Linked DNA regions of Homo sapiens: region 2 is linked to region 1. Evidence: promoter capture Hi-C in human tissues and cell types (Jung and others, 2019). All regions are on one chromosome and are shown on one strand. The core of a region is centred on a gene start or on the middle of the fragment in contact, and the rest is flanking DNA. Distances in the headings are between cores, read along the strand shown.

Region 1 (2,778 bases), core at 82-2,581:
GTCTGCTGTGTTTCTGCAGGATGTACAGCCCTCCCAGCACGGTGCTCGCTTCCCTAATGCCATTCCACAGTATTTGTTGCAGAGAAGGAAGCAGCATGCCAGGACAGATGGAGACAGGACTAATTTGGCTTGAGGTATGTAATTTTGAACTTGAGCCTCTCTCTGGGACTGTAAAACTCCAAATCAAAGTCTTAATCTGAGAATACATACATCTGAAAGAGTGATTAGGGACTGGTAAACATCTATTAATATTCAACTCTGATACAAAGTACAAGTTGTTTATTCTTACCACGCAAGGCCAAAAAAGGGGAGAAAAAAAAAAAAGCACACAGCATATGCACTGGGAAAGCTTTCGCTTATTCAAAACAGTATTTGTCAAGCACCTCCAGGTCTGGGTGCTGCAGGGGAAACAAAGATTAAACAGCCAGGGCTTTGCTTCCAAGGTGCTTACGGTCTTAAGAAGGAGACAAGACATGTTTATAAATAGCCAAAATGCAACCCAGAAAAGGCTAAAAAACACTGAGAGGGAGGGAGAAATAAACGAAGCAAGAGGTCTCCGGAGGAAGAGATGAATGAATTAGCCTATTAATAACTCCTCACTGTAATCCCAATGTAAAGCAAGGAATTCCAAACCAGGAAAGGTCAAACTGAAGTATTTGAGGAACACAGGCGTCGCCCTAAGCCCTTCACAGGCTCGCTGGGGATAATATCGCAGCTGAAACCGAACATCAAGCTGGCTTTTCAAACCTTCAGTTATTTACATTAGACTGAGAGGGGAAAAGCGCTAAGAGTGCAAGAGCAGAGAAAGAGCAAGAGGAAACTTGAAAAGGCGGATCACGCCAATGCGCTGTGCACAGCGCCCCCGCGCCCCGCGCACCCGCTACCCCACCCGAGCCCCCAGCGGCCCGCGTCCCCCATCCCGGTCCCAAGCCCAGACACCTCCGAGATCCGTCCCCCGGCTCCGGCCGGCGCCACCGCCACCCTCAAGACCCCCGCAGCCCAGGCCCGGCCCCGCGCCACCGACGCCCCCCGCGGCCCGACCCGCGCGCCCCGCCAGCCCGGGCCTCGTACCGTAGGTTTCGGACATGGCCGTCTGCGACATCTTGGGAGCGGCGCCGCCTCTCGCCGGGTCACCGGCTGCACTCGCCCGCGGTCCGCCGGCGCGTCTCGGTGGGGAAGGACCTGGGGCGGGGGACCGGAGGAGGGAGGGGCCCGACCGGTCCCCACGGCAACCGCCGGTCTCCCAGCGGCTGCGGCCCAGCCGGACTCCAGCTCCGCGCAGGCGCAGGGCCCTCCACCCTCCGTCCGGCCGCGACCGCGAGGAGGAAGAGGAGATGGGCTACGCGAGGCCCGGCCCACCCCGCGTTCGCGCGTGCGCACGGGGAGGCCGGGGCGGGGCGCGTGAGGACTTCGGCGCGCGCCGGAAGCACGTGCGCGGGCTGGGCGCTCTGGCGGTGTGCGCTGAGGTGGGCAGAGCGGCAGGTGGGGGCGTTGGGGGCTGAGTCCCGATTTCCCTGAGGGAGGGTCGGGTAGAGGCGGGCGGTGGGCAGGTTTGGGGGTGACAGAGGGCTGGGGACAGTGGGGTCCAGTTGCCGGACAGAGGAGGAAGGTGCCCGCACTGGGGAGGAAAGCAGTCCATTTGCCAAATTGGCCCGTCTCAGTTAAGACGTTGTCTTCGGTCATCATCTGCGGCTGTCAGCCAGGAAAAAACTTCCCTGACGCTGTTACGATGGAGGCCAGAACTTGGTTAATGTGTAACAAGGAGGCAGTAGGCCCCAGGTGTCCAGCCAGAGGCCGCCCTGTGAATGGGAGGCAGGTTCATTTACCCGTTGGGAAGCTAAGCTTTCACTCCAAACTGCCGGGCCCTCTTGGATGGAGCTGAGCGGGTGTGGGCGGAATGACAGAAGCGCAAGATGCCCAGGTGCTAAAAGGTCATCGCAAGACTACAGGCTGCAGCCTCTCCACATCCCATTTTAGAGGGTTCTGGATTACGGTTGAGAAGTATCTCCCGGCCCTCAGCTGGGGATGTGTTTCCAAATTTAGGAGTTTTTTTAATTTTTATTTTTTAACAGGGTCTGGCACTGTCAGCCCAGCCCAACCGATTCTCCTGCCTCAGCCTCCTGAGTAGCTGGGGCTAGGGGCTCACACGACCACACCGCGCCAATTTTTAAATTTTTTGTAGAGATGGGGTCTTGTTATGTTGCCCAGGCTGGTCTTGAACTCCTGAGTTCAAGCATCCTCCCTCCTTGGCCTCCCAAATTGCTGGGATTACAGGCATGAGTCATCTCACCTGGCCTTGGATAGTTTGGTTTCAGAAGCAAAACTGAGTTAGAATCCCCTTCTGTGGGAAATGTAGAGATAAACATTTATGGGAAAGAGAATTTTGGTTGAGGATTTGGCCCATCTGAGCTTGATCAGGGCCACATAGCGCCTCATAGTTCCCAACCTTGTTCACAATAGGTAGTCGAATGCTCAAAATATCCTTGGCTAAGCTCCCAAGTGACCTGGACTGTGTGGAAAATGCCAGTACATACTTTTGTGTGTGTGTGTGTGAGTCAGTTTGGCTCCATCCTCCACATAAATTGGCATCAGAGCTTCCCTCTTCCCCAGTGGCTATTTGGGTCGGTATTTTTCTCTTGTCTCCGATCCTAATAACAAATAAATGCAGTTTTTTCTAAATCACAGAGAAGGCCCCATGGTGAAAAGTTGTGACAGCTGTAATTCCTAAAACTGTTTTATATATATTTCTTGTTCAGTGGCTCAGATCATTTGTTGCTT
Region 2 (2,778 bases), core at 202-2,701, 150 kb before region 1:
CGTTCTATCAAGCATTTTTAGTTGGTTTCAATAGGAGTGTTAATCCCAAGAACTTAGCCCACCATATTCCCTAAAAATAGACCTCAACATACCCTACTTACCAGCTTTGTCTTTAGCCGCCCCTGAAAAACATCTCAAATCTCACATGTAGGCTTCGGAAAGTTTGTCCCAAATTCTGATGCCTTATTTTAAAGCTGTTGCCTTTTTCCTGGGCCTAAAAATGCACCGAATCTGAAAATTTTCCCAGGATGACAGGCCACCAGCTGGGAGGCCGAGATGCCTGGAGCCCTCGCAACCCAAAGCTAACGTGCCATGTGTCAACAGGGATCAGTTGAACCATGAATACAAAAAAAAAAAAAAAAAGAAAAGAAAAGAATGAAGGGCGAAGGGGACGAAGAGAGTAGGCCAAAGTGAGAAATCATCATGACAGCTTCCGGGGGTGGAAGAGGGGGGATTTTTCTTCCTGACCTTTTTGTACCTCAATGTTTCCACCAATATTATTTTTTCAACAAATACGCGTTATGTTAACATTAAGAATATTAAATCAAATGGCACAAATGAATAATTAAACAGAAAAGAAAGGATCTACTCGTCCAGCAGACCAGAATTCTCTTTCCAGTAGGACAAGTTTGGGCGGATCCATTCACAATCCTGCTGATGACCACAGGCCAGGCTCCTGCGACAGATGGAGGAGCTTAGAGGCTTGGGCTGGGCAGGGGATCAGAGGATCATATACAATCATACACGTGAATGACACATGGGATCATAGGTGATGCAAGGCGGCACCTGCTGGAAGGAGCTCAAGTTGCTGCTTTCATTGACCTGCCCCGTCCACCAGAGCAATTCTGGATGCACTTAGCAGACATCGGTGGAAAGAGAATATATGGAATTCAGGAGACTGAGTTCTATTCCCAGCTCTGCCTAGCACATTAGGTTTCCCCTGCCAATACCATTCTGCCATGGAAGAGGGAGGAGCGGCTTTTCTGCAGGATGAGGGAGCAAGCTAGGAGAAGGGGGAGAGTCACATTTTTCCAAGGACACGTTCCTTGAGAGCTTCAGAAAAGGTTCCACTGTATTCTTTCTCCTTCCAAAGCTACAGAGCTCAAGATTCTCCCCCACTTTCTTCCCTCCCTTTAGTTTTGTCCATTCATCAACACATATTTATGGAGTATCGCTACCATTGCAGGAACGGAGACGTGCGATATGGAATATAGTTATATGGAATAACTTAACCCTACTTGAACTTCTTCTCAAGTAAATGCTTCAAAAGGATGCCTGTCATCCCTGGGCGCGTGTCAGGGCGCATGTTAGGGCGTCATCTCAGGGCGCATGTCATCTGTTTCTAGAATCTGGATTTTCTGCTAATGTTTGTTTCAGCCTCTAGTGCTCAGTGCAAGGCAGGCAGGTGGAAGCAGGACCATGCAGGTACAGTGAGGCTCCCGGAAGACCTCCATGCTCAGATCTCCAGGTGCCCTGGGGCGGAACCTACCAGGGTCATTCTCCCAGGTTTGGGGGATGGGGGAGCTGCATGTGTTTTCCCACACCACGCTGGCACTGGAGACCAGGAATTTTTAAGCCAGGAAACTCAGCATCTCTGAAATTATCATGGGATCTCTTCCCGACATGGGCAAGGCAAACACTGGTTCAGGCTGGGATGAGGATGAGGTGAGAGGCCCCAGAATCTGCACTTGCACTTGTACCACCAGCACAGAGGATGTGCCTCACTTCCCACACCCAGTCCCAGCCCTGCACTGGGTGGCTGTATTTTTTCCAAGGGGCAGCCCCGGGCACCATGAGGCAAAGCGAATTGTTCCAGGCTACAGGAGAGCACAGGCACTGTGGCCCCCCAGCCAGGGAAGTGTCTGTGTCCTTTTTCCTCCATGCACTTTCCTGGTTATGGGACTACATGGGAGGGAGCTGTGCTGCTCCTCAGTCTGAGAAATTAAGACATCTAAAATCAAGTTGACATTATTCTTCAGCTTATTTTCCAAACGGATCCAGAACCCCCTCCCCTGCTATTGCCCTGCTTATTGGCACCCCCTCCAATCCTCAATTAATTCACTAATTTATTCAACCGACACTTGCTGAGCACCTACAAATCAGTGTCTCGGCCCTCAGGGAGCTGGCAGTCTAGCTGAGAGGCAGATATTGATCAAACAGCAACATGGGCTGGGTGCAGTGGCTCAGGCCTGTAATCCCAGCACTTTGGGAGGCCAAGGTGGGTGCATCACCTGAGGTCAGAAGTTTGAGACCAGCCTGGCCAACATGGTAAAACCCCATCTCTCTCTCTCTCTCTCTCTCTCTCTTTTTTTTTTTTTTGAGACAGAATCTCGCTCTGTCACCCAGGCTGGAGTGCAGTGGCACCATCTCGGCTCACTGCAACCTCCACCTCCCGGGTTCAAGTAATTCTCCTGCCTCAGCCTCCTGAGTAGCTGGGATTACAGGCATGCACTACCACACCCCGCCAATTTTTGTATTTTTAGTAGAGATGGAGTTTCACCATGTTGGCCAGGCTGGTCTCTGTCTCACGTGTCCGTGTGAAGAGATCACCAAACAGGCTTTGTGTGGGCAACAAAGCTGTTTATTTCACTTAGGTGCAGGGGGACTGAGTCCAAAAAGAGAGTCAGCAAAGGGTGGTGGATTATCATTAGTTCTTATAGGTTTGGGGATAGGCGGTGGAGTTAGGAGCAATGTTTTGTGGGCAGGGGGTGGATCTCACTAAGTACATTCTCAAGGGTGAGGAGAATTACAAAGAACTTTCTTACGGGTGGGGGAGAT

What was found. Contacts are between HindIII fragments. The study calls those that stand out against the background at their distance.
Region 2: a fragment that was not itself captured here is called in contact with the fragment with the promoter of RAB4A in region 1 in 1 of the 25 tissues and cell types used here (dorsolateral prefrontal cortex).

Annotation. Positions count from the first base shown.
Region 1 is chr1:229,269,664-229,272,441 of GRCh38, reverse strand. RAB4A (RAB4A, member RAS oncogene family) reads right to left here and starts at 1,331. Exons shown (of 8, transcript NM_004578.4): 1 at 1,072-1,331. The coding sequence starts at 1,102. It overlaps RAB4A-AS1 (RAB4A antisense RNA 1), which reads left to right and starts at 1,288. Exons shown (of 2, transcript NR_149313.1): 1 at 1,288-1,466. RefSeq lists silencers at 790-949, 990-1,519. The HindIII fragment of the contact is 8,116 bases long and covers 1-2,778 here.
Region 2 is chr1:229,418,935-229,421,712 of GRCh38, reverse strand. No RefSeq gene overlaps it. Among named protein-coding and RNA genes, the nearest start is that of ACTA1, 14 kb to the left of the region's middle. RefSeq lists an enhancer at 2,600-2,778. The HindIII fragment of the contact is 9,377 bases long and covers 1-2,778 here.